3 separate regions of the Homo sapiens genome follow, and all the other regions are linked to region 1. The links are contacts of gene promoters, found by promoter capture Hi-C in blood cells and fetal thymus (Javierre and others, 2016). All regions are on one chromosome and are shown on one strand. Each heading gives the region's core, a stretch centred on a gene start or on the middle of the fragment in contact. The rest is flanking DNA. Distances are from core to core; before and after follow the strand shown.

The links. The method cuts DNA at HindIII sites, captures the fragments that hold promoters and counts their contacts. A CHiCAGO score of 5 or more calls a contact.
Region 2: a contact is called between a fragment that was not itself captured here and the fragment with the promoter of DHX33 in region 1, in 1 of 17 cell types (M0 macrophages). The highest score is 7.0, in M0 macrophages.
Region 3: a fragment that was not itself captured here is called in contact with the fragment with the promoter of DHX33 in region 1 in 1 of 17 cell types (M1 macrophages); the score reaches 7.3 in M1 macrophages.

What each region holds. Positions count from the first base shown.
Region 1 is chr17:5,465,951-5,471,094 of GRCh38, forward strand. DHX33 (DEAH-box helicase 33) reads right to left here and starts at 3,032. Exons shown (of 12, transcript NM_020162.4): 1 at 2,621-3,032. The coding sequence starts at 2,909. DHX33-DT (DHX33 divergent transcript) reads left to right here and starts at 3,142. Exons shown (of 3, transcript NR_135644.1): 1 at 3,142-3,189; 2 at 3,964-4,044; 3 at 4,142-4,410. RefSeq lists enhancers at 2,084-2,666, 2,456-2,675, 3,056-3,125. The HindIII fragment of the contact is 2,364 bases long and covers 1,807-4,170 here.
Region 2 is chr17:6,627,144-6,632,287 of GRCh38, forward strand. It overlaps KIAA0753, which reads right to left. Exons shown (of 19, transcript NM_014804.3): 3 at 974-1,598. Among named protein-coding and RNA genes, the nearest start is that of KIAA0753, 11 kb to the right of the region's middle. The HindIII fragment of the contact is 978 bases long and covers 1,971-2,948 here.
Region 3 is chr17:6,604,624-6,609,767 of GRCh38, forward strand. It overlaps KIAA0753, which reads right to left. Exons shown (of 19, transcript NM_014804.3): 10 at 3,725-3,841; 11 at 2,558-2,647; 12 at 2,250-2,339. Among named protein-coding and RNA genes, the nearest start is that of KIAA0753, 34 kb to the right of the region's middle. The HindIII fragment of the contact is 3,434 bases long and covers 1,766-5,144 here.

The DNA.
Region 1 (5,144 bases), core at 1,782-4,281:
TTCCTCCTCTTCCAGACCAGCCCTGCATCTAGCCCTTGTGGCCAAGTTCCCCCGTCCCCCATGCCTCCTGATCTTTGCTCTGTTAGCTCGATTCTATCTTCTGCCTCCCTCCCTACTGAGTTCTTCCCCTCAACCTCTGAATACAGATGGTCCCTGTCTTAGAACTGTTTGACTTCAGGATGGAGCAAAAGTCAAAATCGTACAGTAGAAACTGTACTTTTGAGTACCCACACAACTGTCACTTTCAGTATGGTATTCAATAAATTGCATGAAATATTCAAGACTTTATTATAAAATAGGTTTCATGTTAGATAATATCACCCAACCATAGGCTAATGTACATGTTCCGAGCACACTGAAAGTAGGCTGGGCATATTAAATGCATTTCCAACTTAGGATATTTTCAACTTATGAGGATGGGTGGATTCATCCACACATAACCCCATCCTAAATCGAGCAGCATCCATAAAGTTTCTCTCAGCTTCCCTCCTTTTTCCTCAAAACAGAAGCCTCTTCCCCCTGCTTTCAGCCCTCAGCTCAATGACAAATCAGCTGTTACCCACACAGCTTTGTTGAAATAGCTCTCGATGGGATGGATCCACGATCAATAGTGTCAGAGATAGTCTGTGAAAGTCATGAAAAATTTTATGAGAGGAAATGTATGCAAGAAATGTTTTACAATTTAAAAGTGATTAGGCCTCCTGAATGCTTTATAAAATGTCACCATAACTCTTAGCTGTAGAACTTGCCTGCTTTGCAGCTAGGTAAAACCTAGGACACATGGAGCTAAATGCTGAAATAAGCCAGACCTTAACTGCACTTCTGTCTAAGTCCTAGGCTGTACACCTAGCACATAATTAAAATCCCGAACTTACCAAGGTTTTCAACAAAGGTAAAGGTTGCTAAAAGTTAACAGTGTAACATGTATTTAAAACTATTGAAGAGACACTTTATGTGCAAGGTGTGTAAGGAAAGTAAAGTACACTTTCGGTAAAAAGATTATCAGGAGGGATAAGAATGCACATTTTTACCTACGTTAAAAGGTTAAATAATTGTTTTGAGGGGGCCAGGTGCGGTGGCTCACGCCTCTTTCTATATCAACCAATCGGGCCTAGTAAAAAGCGCTGCTAAAAAACGTAAAGAAAAGGCTAAAAAGCTAAGGGAGTACCAAAACCACCAAATGGACTCTTGGTTTGAAAACAAAATCATAGCATGGGTCATCCCATTCCTGGGCCCTCTCCTAATAATATGCCTGGAACTAATGTTCTTACCCTGCCTAATTAATCTTTTTCAAAGATTTTTAACTGACAGGATCATGGCAATTTCACAAACAACTACCCAAAAACATCTACAGACGGCATTGCTCCTAGTCAACCCGAGACCAGGAAACTCTCCATCCCCTCGTTGCAGGAAGTAGCCAGAAAGAACATGCCGTCCCTCCTCCTTTTTATAACTATAGGGTCTGGATTGACAAAGCAGGAACATCACCATCTTGGACAAGCCCCTCATTCAAAAGTTCACCTTAATAAAAAACCGCCTAAATCCAAAAGGTATCAGCCTAATGGCTAAGGTCAGCACGACCATAAACCACAAATAACATCTCCAGCCAGAAACATTCCAAACTCCTCCCCGACCAGAGACATGTTAAGGGATAACCCCACTCTGGCCGGGAATATGCCAGCCGGGAATATGCCAGCCGGGAGATAAACCCCCTCGGGCCGGAAAAATGTCTGCCCCAAGATAACATCCCCTGCTCCCAAAGAGTCCAACCCTGCCAAAAACTTCTCCACACATATAAACATTCCAAGCTTGTGATAAGCCCCCTCACCCTAACACCAATATATACTCTTAGTCTGTAAGAGAAAGGGCTCCTGACCGAAATCGGCCAGGAGCGCCTCTCAGGTTTTAACTAAAGAAAAGCTGTCTTTAACTGCCAGCCGCGTTTCGTGTTTCTTTCCTTTTTCTTTAACTCTTACAAATAGCTCACATCCAAATCCAGTGGGCATCACATCCAAGTCCAGTATAACCGGACTTGACTGCTGCATCTGCTCACTCTCTATTCCTTTGACTAGCAGCACTCATGGGTCTCCTTCCTCTCTTTGGCTGCTCATCCTTTCCGTCCTTCAGTATCTCCTCTAACACGTTGGGGATCATAAGCCCCATGAAATCAGTCCCTGCCCCACAACTCTGCCTCTTTTCATGCACCAGAAACTACACCTTCCCTTTCGACCGGAATGTGTTCAGGTTCCCATCTCTCAAACGGGCTTTCCCCCCTGCCTAGAATGCCCTCCCTCCCACACGACCTCCCCAGCCGCCTCCTCACAAACCGGGTCAGATCCACTCTTCTAAGATCCGCAAGCCCCCGGTACGTTTCTCTACCCTTTTACGCGGAAGGTGAGTCTTTGCCTACACACGTTGGTCACTCTCACCGGGCTGTCCAGCGCCTCCAGGGCAGGGCTGCCGGACTCTTCTTCGAGGCCCCTCTCCAGGTCTGGCCCAGAAAAGGTATTCAGGTTTGTTGAAGCCACGAACGAAAGGGATTGAGAGGCATGTAAGAAAAACTGCTCTAGCTAAGCCACGGACGAAGTGCAAGGAAGAGCCCGCCGGCGCGGCCACTCACCGATGAGGACCGCGTTGTCCAGGTTTCGGAGCTGGGCCAACAGTTGCCCCCGCGCTTGGAAGATGGGCAGACTCCGGCGCTGCAGCTCCACAGCTTCAGGGTAGGGACTGGCCGAGGGCTGGGCCAGGGGCGGCTGCTGCCTCCGGCCTCCTCCTCCTCCTCTGCCGCCGCTGCCCGCAGTCAGCAGCATCACCACTTGCCTCCCGGGAGGGAAGGACCCAGCGCGGCTCGGAGGTCCAGAGCCTGGCCGGAATCTCTTGGCCGGCGGGAAGCCCGCCTCCTCCGGCATGTCGGGAGGGCACCGCGGCGGGAGGCGCAAGCGCCGAGAGCTCCTGCCCCCTCTCAGGTGCAGACAACAGGAGCACACCGCCCCTTCCTCGCCGCCACGTGCTGGCGGCTCCCGGCGACCACCGATGACCTCACGGCCGCCCCAGTCTTTAGAAAAAGGGACTGCATCTCCCAGCATGCCTTGGGGGCTTGGGAAGGCTTTCACTTCCTGGGGGTGGGAAAAGCAGGGCCTGAGGTACAACCAGGAAAAGGCCCGGAGCTACAACCGGGAAACACAGGATGTAAGGTTCCGTGGGACTGTAGTCTTGGTTAACGAGGTTTTTCTCATTGTTTTATTTTTTTTTTTTGAGATGGAGTTTCGCTCTTGTTGCCCAGGCTGGAGTGCAATGGCGCGATCTCGGCTCACACTGCAACCTCCGCCTCCTGGGTTCAAGCGATTCTCCTGCCTCAGCCTCCCAAGTAGCTGGGGTTACAGGCGTGCGCCACCGGGGCCCGTCTAATTTTGTATTTTTAGTAGAGACAGGGTTTCTCCATGTTGGTCAGGCTGGTCTTGAACTCCCGACCTCAGGTGATCCGCCTGCCTCGGCCTCCCAAAGTGCTGGGATTATAGGCGTGAGCCACCGCGCCCCGCCCATTGTTTTGTTCTAGTAGCATTACTTCTTTTCAGTAAACCCGCGTTTTCCCCTTCTCTGTCCAAATAACAGTCACTCTTCAAGGAAAGTACTTAATTCTGTAAAATCAATGAGAAGCGCAAACGTGCATTGTCTAATCCTCTAAACAACTTATAAGTTATGTGGTATATACTGGTTATTAGATTATCTCTAATTTACAGATTAAGAAATTGAGTCATCTTAGTCATTCAGATGTCCCCAAATCATAATTTTGTGATCATCTTGTGTTACAGAAAGGAAAACCAATTCTGATATACATGAATTTAACTCAGAAAATGACTCCTCCAACGGATGTGGTCGCCTCCAGTAATACAAGCAGAGAAAGGAGGGAGTTCAATGAAATTAAAATTGTCTTTTATCTTTCCTTTCCCCCAACCATTCCAGCCAGACTCTCAAGTTCTCTACATGGCTGTGCAACCCCATCACAGACACTTCAGTGAAGATTCAGAACTGCAGCAGAAAAAAGTAGGATTATAACTAGTTCTTCCTTACCCTCCTAAAAGTTCTTAGATGATTTGCTAATTTACCACGGAGAATGCCAAGTAGCTGTTTGCTCTTACAGGAAATGTGATTTCCAGAGAATACACCGTAAGCTTCAGCTCATGTGAAGGGTATCTTCTGAAGCTCGTTTCCATGAAACTCGCCCTGTTAAATATCTCCCTTCCCGTGATTCGTGAGAGAGCTAGTCTAAAAACAAAAAACCTCCCCTTTGCTCCAGGTCGGAGATAATTTTCCTCTAGTTGCTGACAGTTTGGTGACCAGGCATTACTGAAAATGTGCACGTTGAACCAGCAGCAGATTTGTGTTTAAGAATAAACTGACAAATTTTCACTTCCTACCCTGAAATATTTAGAAAGGCAACCCAAAACTACAAGGGATAATAAATGTTAACTCTCAAATTATGGACTTTGAGTAAAGACATCCCAGTCCTTTTTCCCAGTGTGCTTTCCAGAGTAACTTAAGGTAGGAGTCCGATGTTCCAAATGATTACAATAATTTAGGTAATGTAAATGGGTGGACTTATTTCTTGATGGAGCACATTCCACCTCTACATGCAGCCCCTAATCATTTCTAGGCAATGGCTGTCATGTAGACCTATTATTGCCAGATCTTCCAATTTTCTCAAGAAAAGCCAAAAGTGAAGATTTTTATCTGTCAATGTTAAATACAGGTTTAAACTTAAAAAAAAAAAAAGTACTGTCAAAACAAAGCACATAGGTAGGTAACAAATCTGTAGGTAACTCATCCATAATCTCTGGCCTAATGATCCAGCTATTCTATAGCCTCAAAGCTAAGAGGACCAAAGAGTGGAAAAATTAAGTCCTATATATGCATCAAGCCATGCTGCTCACATTTCTCCCATTGGTAGACTGAAATCTGCTGTTTCTCCTGAAGAAGTCTCTTGGGGTTCACCAGCTTTCATATGTAGATACTGACAAGCTAATAACTATTCAGAGAATATCCTGGTTCTTCCTTCAAACGACGAAGTGTCAGACACATTTCATTTTTAACTTGTCTGGGATGGTCTGTGGACTTAACTGGTCTGATCACGACCATAACAGCTG
Region 2 (5,144 bases), core at 1,210-3,709, 1.2 Mb after region 1:
CTTAGACTTTGTAAATTCTCCAAGTGATTTGACGTTCCCTCTTTAGCTGGCTCCTAGGAAGCTCAGAAGCAAATCTGTGACTCATCCCTAGTAAATGTTTTTCCTTTCCTTATTGTTTCCTTTGCCACAATATCCTCATGTGCATTTTTGTTTTATCTTATTCAATCACAGGTATTTCTTAAGGTACCTTAAATTCTTTCATAAGATGCATATAGGTACATATGCATATATTAATTAAATTGAAAATGCAAAAAATAATTCTAGACTATGTACTACCCTAGTGCAACGGTTTCTTTTGATGCTCAACTCCATACCCCTTGCAATCTGAAAGCTGGGCTTGGTTCCCTACTTGTTAGTTACGGTAACCCCAAATTCTCCACGTGGAACCAGTCTTCTACTCAGCAGGGAAATACAAGGGCCCTGAGAACACTGCAGAACTGTAGAAAACCATATATGATGATTAAATTCCTTCCTTCCTACCCTGTGCTCACTTTACACATATACCCACAACTTCCCTTGTCACTGGTGTGTACTCACCTAAATACTGCCCAAGTGAGAACTGGTTTTACCTATAATATAAATACATTATGCTCTCTTTTCAAGCAAATTGAAAAATAATTTTCCCAGAAGAGGGAAAACATTATAGGATAATTTGCACTCAGGTCCCAGAAGACCTAAGGTTCAGCCAACATTAATGCCACCTCGTAGGCTGGGCCCTCAGTCAGTGGACATTTGAAGGGCAGCCACAGTGAAGAAGTTCTTTCATGTCCCTCCGCTGGAAAGAGGAGCTGGGGCAAGACACTGTTCAAACTCCAAGCCTAACTGTCTTGTCCTGAGTACTCACACTCCAGTGAACCAACTCACAGAAGGAAAGAATGAAATTGCTATAGGGGTTGAGGGTCCTCAAGGAATGCATTTAAACTACCCCATAATCACAGCCTTAGGTCGAAGTAAAGAATCTAATTTTTCTCACCTTTTTTAGTTACCTCTTCAATTTTGTGGATACAACTGCTCAGTTCTTTCTGGAGTCGCTGGACTTCTAGCAGGCTTTTCTGTTCACTTATGTTTTTGTGGTCACCTATCCTGGGATGAGGCTGAAGTCCCGGATCATGGGTGGGTGGCGAATTTGGCACAGTAAGATCTGACTGGCCTGGATGAGATGAGTAAAGGTATACTTTGGCACCAGAGCTGGAGATTTCTACTTTGGATGGCTGGTGGCTACACTGACAGGCTGCTTGACTCTTTGATTCCTTCCTTTCCACCCTGTGGTCGGGTATTTTATACTTAGTATGTCCACACTTCTGAGAGCTTTGAGGCTGACTTCTGAGATGATGTTCTTTTATATGTTTTTCAAATTGTCTTCGTTTCACATCTCTTCTGGCTAGGTGGACAGCATAGCTAAGTCTCTCTTGGGATATGACGGAAAATGAAACAGAACTGCCCAGGTCAGGACCAACTCTACAATCTGCATCTTTACAATGGTATGATTCATTGTATGAGTGCTTCAGTTTTTCAATTCTAATGGCATGTGGGCAAGAATATCGGATCGCCAAGTTGCTTGAATGTGTAGGAACATTCCTATTAAACTGCAGCTGGTTCTTTAAAAAGCAAATAAAAGTAAGCAGACATCAGAAAAATTTCATATTGCACAGTTGGTATATGTCTATAATCAAATTTCTAAAATTTTGCCACCAGATCATTAGTGCTAAGAGGCATTTTTCTGTTTTACTGATAGACACAGCCACGCTCCTACACCCTTGGGTTCATCACATACCCCTGGTTCTATCCTATAATCATCCAGTCCCATACTATTATCCTTCTGTTTACTAATGTCATACTGGGAACCATCTCTAAAAGTAAACCCAGAAAGCTTCAAGCAGCAACCACTAAGTCCTTCAATTTCCCAGTTATGGACTTCTGTCCTATTTCAAAATGTCAGGCCCCAGCAAGTGACCAATATAACCCATTGAAGCTTTCTTAAAATTTGCTCCACGGATAGATCCAAGCCATCTGATAGTACTTCTTCAGGTCTTCCTGAGACTTCATTTGGTGGCTGGATCCATCTTTTACCCTGCCCCTAAGTGTATCTCACTTGAAACAGTCCGCTTATGCTTTCTTACACAGGCTCAAGTTTTTGTCAGTTTTCCTCATAATAAATACAAGTTTTGTTTCGTTTTGCACTTAAACATAAACATGTTTCTATATCCCTACAGCTTTTATTTATCATTGTTGCATTTTCCAAAATCCAATGAATGGTCTTTTCATGCCTAACTATAATGTTAATATTAAACATTTAGATTGTTCCAGTTTTTCCACTAATAGAAATATTACCTCAATTAATGTCTCCATGCATTTAGTTTTTTAACCTTTTAAAATTATTTCCTTAGGATAAATGATCTGTTCTGGGATTATCAGGTTAAAGGAAAGAAACGATTTTATGGCTTTAAATATGTACCCTCCTTAGGCCTACCAGAATGAACCTGTCAAAGACCGGTCAATAGCCTGAGGAGAATCCATGCCTACAAATTCAATGAACCCAGTCCTGTGATGCCGTGACCTTGGAGATGGCCTCCCCTGCTCTCACAATCAATGTGTTTATATAATTACAGGCATCAAGAGTCACTTAAAAATAATCAATTGTGACAAAACTTCAGGGAAGTATTTCGGATTTTTAAAAAGTAGTTAGAAAGCTCACTAAAGAAAAAACAAATAGGTACCATCTGAAAGATACACAGACTGATGAACGGTGTTTGTCATTTGAGGTCAGGAGTTTGAGACCAGCTTGGCCAACATGGCAAAACCCCATCTCTACTAAAAAACATATAAAAATTAGGTAGGCGTGATGGCACATGCCTGTAATCCCAGCTACTCAGGAGGCTGAGACACAAGAATCGCTTGAGCCTGGGAGGTGGAGGTTGCAGCGAGCTGAGACTAAGCCACTGCACTCAAGCTTGGGTGACAGAGGAAGACACTGTCTAAATAATAATAATAATTATAATAATAATTATTGAAGTATAAAAAGATCAAAACTGAATAAAAACAGGGAAAAACATATGACCAATTTACCAAAAAAGAGGTCCTTAAGTACATAAAAAGATGTTCAATCTCATAACACAAATTAAAAATACATGGAAATACCATCTCTTACCCAACCGATTAGCAAAAATTTAAAAGTATAGCAATATATGCTGTTGGTGAGGCTGTGGGAAGCAGGCGCCCTCATAGAAGAGGTGCTGGTGGTCATGCAAATTGGCATAATTCTTATGGAGGGGAATTTGGCAATCGCTAACAAAAACACCATGCATTCATCACTTTTTTTTTTAATTAAAAAGATTTAGCACAGGAAAGAAAGAAAAGACACTTGAAAGAGACCCAAGCAGGCAACTTGAAGGACAAGTATCACATTTAACTTTTGACCCAGGAGTCTCACTTCTAGGAATTTACCCTGTAGACACACCTCCAACAATAAACATGTACAGGGTTACTCACTGCTATATTGTTTGTAACTGTAAATTATTAGAATCAATCTGAGTCCCCATGAAGGAGAGTAGCTGAGTAAACAATGGTCTATCCACAAACTGGAGTAAAATGAAGATATAAAACAAAAATGAGGAAGATCTCTGTGACACTTCTATGAATTAATGTGGAGAGATTGGAATATATTGTTCAGCAGAAAGCACTATGCGCAAAAAGTATATTTATAATACACTACCCTTCATATAAGAAAAGAAGACATGAGAAAATATATATACATCTGAATCACTTGTGCAAAAAGAAACAGAAAACAAAAATCAGAGACTAATGAGATTAGTTATCTACAGGGAACTGGTAGGAATAGGAAGGAAAGGACAGAGGGAATGGGGTAGCAGATAACTTTTCTGAATATACCTTTTTGTATATTTGGAACCATGTTAATGTTTCACATATACACGAGAGACAGGAAGAAAGAAATGAATGAATGAAGGGAGGAAGAGGGAAAGGAAGGAAAAAAAAATCCATAAGGATAGTGGAAAACCCCCAAATAAATACCAACAGAAACCAATGAACCAAACTGAATCTCAGATAAGTAACATAACCACGCTAAAAAGTGAAGATGAAAAAAATTAACCCCAGTAACTTTTGAATATAGCATTTGGACTATATGCCGTCAGGCTAAAGACAGATGTACTCTAAACAAATACTGAACTCTAATTTTGCAGGCTTCTTCTTGAGCAGAGACACGGATTACAATTCAGAAACTACCTTTTGTACATTCCAGAACTGAGCAAAAAAGTAAATATATTGTGGATAATGATAGCCAGCTTTCATGCTCTGGGACAAGGGAGTTGGAAATATGTAGTGTTGGATTTGAATTGGAGATACCTGTGTGAACTTGTGAGTTTTAATACAGACATATAGGCAGACAGACACAGAAAGATACATAGACAGCAAGAGAAGGAGGAAGGGAAGAGAAAGAAAGAAACAGGAAGGAGATGAGAAAGTGTAGCTACAGACATGTGAGTACGGGTGTGCATTTATGAATGTGTGTACATGTATGTATATGCACACAAGTATACATCTATTTCCTAGTTCTGTCCTCTGAGAGGGCCTAAAACAATGACATGATAGTATCAAGGAGCACATCCAGCCCCAGATAGTGATTTTTTAAATTTCATTCTCCACTGAAGAATCAAAGTCTCCTTGGATAAATGGTTAATTCCAGGGCCAGGACAAAGAAAAGACAAGTTGAGCCTGGAGTATCTTTTATTTATTTATTTATTTATTTATGAGACGGAGTCACCCAGGCTGGAGTGCAGTGGCACAATCTTGGCTCACTGCAACCTCCGCCTCCTGGGTTCAAGTGATTCTACTGCCTCGGCCTCCCAAGTAGCTGAGATTATAGGTGTGCACCATCATGCTCAGCTAATTTTTTTGTATTTTTTAGCAGAGATGGGGTTTTAGCAACATGGGGTTTCACCATGTTGGCCAGGCTGGTCTTGAACTCCTGACCTCAAGTGATCCTCCTGCCTTGGCCTCCCAAAGTGCTGGGATTACAGGCATGAGCCACAACGCCCAGCCTTGGAGTGTCTTTTTACACCATAAAGTGGTCAAAGACTGATGAGATCATGTCAAAGAGACACTGGGGCCAACTAGAAGTGGCTCTC
Region 3 (5,144 bases), core at 2,233-4,732, 1.1 Mb after region 1:
GGAGATATTTAGCCAAGCAGTGAATGGGGGCAGGAGAGAAGTGGGTGTGGCAACATGAGGGCTCCTTGGGGGTGGGAAGGTTCTGTATCTCGACTATACCAATGTTAATATCCTGGTTGTAGTACTGTGCTGTAGTTTCCCAAGAGGCTAACATCTGGGGAAACTGGGTCTTCGTGTGACTCTACGATTACCTCACAATAAGAAGTTTAATTAAAAATTTCCAATAAAAATAATCTTCTATACCCAGTAAGGCTACCAGCAAATATGAGATGGTTTATCAGCTAATAAAGACATTTTCAGACTTGAAAGGTCTGAAAGGATTTACTTCCCATTCATCCTTTCTCAAGAAGCTAAATTAACCTATGCCTAACCCCAGCCCTCCGGGAGGCCAAGGCAGAAGGATCACTTGAGCCCAGGAGTCCAAGACCAGCCTGGGCAACATAGTGAGACCTTGTCTCTAACTTGAAAAAAAAAAAAAAAAAAAAGCAGCAGCTACATTAGCATGTGCTCCATCAAAACAAGCAAGTAAACTGAAGAAGATTACAACACAATATGGGAAATGGGAGGTCTAAGCCTAGATTCCTGGCTTGTCTTGCCCCTTTGCTGATGAAGTTTCTCCTACTCACTGCAGACCTGCTGTCTGCTAAGGATAGTCATCCCATCCCCACAGTAGCTGACCAGAAAGAGCTGAGAAGCCGTGCATTACAGCGCAGCCCCTCTCCTGACAAGGCTTCCTCCCGAAGTCCAGTGGACCTGGCTCACCGACAGGCCCTCCAGATGGAGGACGCCCTGTGTGTGCAGGACTCACTCCCGACCCTGCTCAGTGACCTCCTGAGAGGGGCACCTACAACTCTCATGAAAGCACAAATCAGATTAGGATCCAGGCTCTGTTCAACCTGTCTTCCCCTAGGAGTCTTCATCTGATACTACCAGAAACACTGCCCTTTCCATGTTCAGCTAGATTTGTGCCTGTTTCTCAGTTTTCAAAATTAAACAAGATATTGTTAGGGATACACACATAGTTGACAGATTTATGAAGAAGAGTAATGAAAAGATCAACACAAGAATCAGGACAGTGGCTGCCTCTCGGGGGAAAGGGGATGCAACTGAGGAGGGATACACTGGAAACTTCTGCAGCAGTGGCAACGGTCGATTCCTTGACTTACGATGGTGGTGCGTGGATGTTCATTCTGTAATATTTTGGATTGCACATGTGCATTCAGTATGTTCTTCTATATGTGTGATATGTTTAATTTCTGAAGTAAAAACACACAGAGGAATAAACGGGACACAGAGGATGAAGCTTTTGCTATATGGCCCAAAGGACAAGTGGGTAAGAGTCACAGAGAACCAAACTTCAACACAGCCTGAGGTCACACCTTCTTAGCTATAAATGACCATGAAATGTATTCCCTCTGACAGTAGTGACTATCCCATCACAGAGGGTGTGTGTAAATATACTGGACAGTTCCTTGGTGGAGATAGTAGAGAGGAGCCAAAAGCCTCAGTTGGGGGGAAAAGATCCTTCAAATCCCAAGATTCTGGGATTGTATGACTTGAAATCTTTACTACAGACAAAAAGTCTTGGCCTTCTAATGATAAACCCACAGCCCTTCTAACCTGAGACTGAACACTCCATCATGAATGGTGACAGAATGCACAGATGTTTCAATGAGTGTTCTGTTAATGTGACTATAGGATGAATTATTATCAGAGTTGGAAAAATGAGGTAATTGCAGCAGCAGCTGAACTAAATCTTTTAACAAGCTTCTTTATGTCTATAGTGCCTATAGTTTAAAAAACACTTATGGAGTGAATAGAAAAAGGGAACCGCATTTGAAAACCATAGCCTGCACTCAAGCTAACATACGAAACTAAAGTAGCTATATGTTGATTCACATGAGCAGAACATGTATGTGCATCATACTCATCTTCTGCCCTTAGAAGGACTGACATCTGGCTAGAGAAAAGTACCTTTGAGGGTAGTCCAAACAAATACACATAAGACTCTGATCTTTCAGACAGAACTTCTCTACAATTACAGATTTTTTTCAGTTCTCCTTCAAACTCCACACAAAAGAAGCATTTCCTAGCAAAAAAATATGGTATAATATACAGGTAGACATGCAGCTATTCATTCATTCATGTAATGAAGTTAGGCCTTAACAGTCCAGGTTGGTTGCTAGAACTATCTAGATCAATTAGAACAGGCAAACATCCACTATTCTTCCTAAGAAGCAAACACATACCTCAATTGTTGGAGTCTATACATTTCTTCAGCTTTGAGCTCATTCAGTTCCTTTGTTCTTCTAGAAGTTTCAGCATCAAGCCAATCAAGCCTAGAGAACAGTATCAAGAGTCACCCCAACTCTCCTCAAGGCAGAGTCAGGGCTCCCTTGAGCTCCAGTCTTGGCTCCCCCCTTGGCTTCTTAAGTGACTTCAGTCTTTTAAGGAGGCAGAAGTGTAGCTAGACCTAAATAATCTCTATTTATCATTAATGTATAGAGATGTAGAATAGGCCTGCTTACCTTTTCCTAACTCAGAAGCAAATATTTACCTCTGTTTTTGCATGCTGTCAATTTCCTTGGCTTTTAACTCTTCTAGTTCCTTCAATCTTTTGGAAGTTTCAGCATCAAGCCAAGCGAGCCTAGCAGACAGTCAAAAGAGTCAAACCAATTCTGCCTCGACACTGCAGGGTGTCATCATCACAGAAACAGACCAGAAATCAGGACCACTGCAGAGCAGAGCACCAATCCAGGCTCTATTAAGCTACTCAGTAGGTAACATAATCTCTCCGTACCCCTAAAGCTCTCTAGAACGTGTTCCATGTCAAAAAACATTAATGCACAACGCAATGAGAACCTGTCTCAAACGTTCTCAAGAAAACCAGCTATCACTCAGACTTGGGGTTTCTTATTAGACTCAAACAAAACCATTGCTATATCTTCAAGTTGAGACAAACAATGAGCCCCCAGGAGCCATATAGGCATGGTGAAGTCAAATAAAAACAAAAGGGAAAAGTTAACTGTGAACAACTCTGCTGTATGTAAAAGTGCTTTGATTCTTTTGGTTTAGGATATATGAATATTGTCAAATTATTTAATGGACCGCTTTCATTTTTGTTTTCCCATAACTGTAAGAATAATTTCAGCCAAATGAATACAGAGAAACCTGTTCTCACTGTTCTCTTCTTATGGAATGTTCTCACCTCATCTCCCATATTGAAATCCTGCCTGTTCTTCAGGTCCTAGTTTAATTTCCATCCATGAAGCCTAGACCTCTGCAGCCAGAAGTAACCCTCCCCCGTTTCTAAACTCTCTCAGTTCCTAGGTTACATACCGTGTTCTATCTTAAATTATAGTTAATTACATAACTTCTCTATTGACTATAAATAAGCAAGGGCTGGGATTATGGCCTATTTGCCCTTTTTAAAGTCTCCATAGAGCTCATAACACTGTCACATACAAAACTAGCAAGTGATATATAATTGACACATATATAATTTATGAATGAATAAGAAAAAATAGAAGAGCTCACTATAAGCTATATAGTTTGACTGAAACGTTTAATAAACTACATTTTATGTATTTATTCTATTTTTAAAAATAATCTACATTTTAAATAACCAACTTTAAATGTAGGAAAGAGAAGAAAGGGTTCACTTCCAAGTCTATGTAAAAGGAGCTCTTTAATTCTCAAAGATCTGAAAAATACCAGCACAAACCTGGCTGCTTCATGCTCAACAGCACCTGTCAGGTGACTTTCCTCTTGAGGATCTTCTTGCTGGAGAGGCTCTTTTGTGGCATCTCTGGGGCTAGTTTTCACCTTTAGCCATGCAGCACTGAAATAAATGGAAAAGCATACCTTTGTCATCATTCACTCCGTATCCAATGACTCATCCAAGTAGGTGCCAGCTCAGAGATGACAACAGCATTAAATTAATGGTGATCTGTAGCACGGGGCCCTACAGTAGAAGCTGAATGTGAAGAAAAGTGAGATCCTCCCGCACTCAGGCACAGTGTCAAAGGGCAGAAATTCTCCTTTGCTTCAAAGAAGCCATCACCATTTTAAATGAGAAACAGTGATCAATTACAGAATATTGGGTGAGTGTCAACAAAACTCTGTCACAATACATAGATTTGGATCACTAATTACATTCCATATTATAAGGCAACTCCGTATCTTTATAAGGCCTAACAGCACTGTTGAGCCTAGAAGCCTCACCCACCCTCCTCTACCCACCACACATGCACTCTAAAAGACAGTCCATTGTATATTTGGTTTGTAATACAAACTTCAACCACTGAGCTTATCAACTGAATGTAAATCTCCATATTAATACTTGTATACAAAAATACAGAAAACAGAATAGAGTAATAAAAACAAAAAAAGCACATTATGAAGTCAGAAGACCTGATTTTAGGTCTGGCTGTTACATGAATAAGACATTAAATTCTCTAAACATTGTTTCCTTAACTTGAAAATGAGAGTGGATGGATGAGCACGGCCATTCCTTCACACTCATTCGGAATCTTAGGGGGCTTCTCTTCCACCAAGCTGCTCACCCTGACTTCTGATGGCTCCAAAGACAGAACCCTGTAGTCACCTATCTTCTCCCTTCTCCCCTGACATGACTGCTTTTTACTTCTTTCCTTTTTCTGTTCCACCTCCTGGTCCTTTCCATTGTGTTTTCAAAAACTACTGCCTCACGGCAAACGAGCTCCCCTTTATCTTCAACCGATTCCCCTAAAGATTATTTCCACCTAACTGGACCCTGCTCCTCTTCTCTCTAGCCCTGTGAAATGGCAGCTTCTCATTCTAATGTGCTATGAGTGAGGATGACAAGACAGTAACATCAACATTATCCTAATTGCTCCCTGCAGCTAAGACAGTGTTGGTGAGATCTATATAGTTTTATAGTTCATAATTATCTTGACTTAGAGTTAGAATTATTTTAAAATATTTATTTACTCAGCAAAGATTTACTGAATGCCTACTATGTGACTAGCACTGGACATTCAAATATAAAAAAGAATATAAAAAAGACACAGTCCCTGGCCTCAAGTTACTAGAATCTATTGGCAGAAGAGACAAGTGAAGGGAAGCCCCCCATCTTCCATTCAATCACACATGTCCCGGTGTTG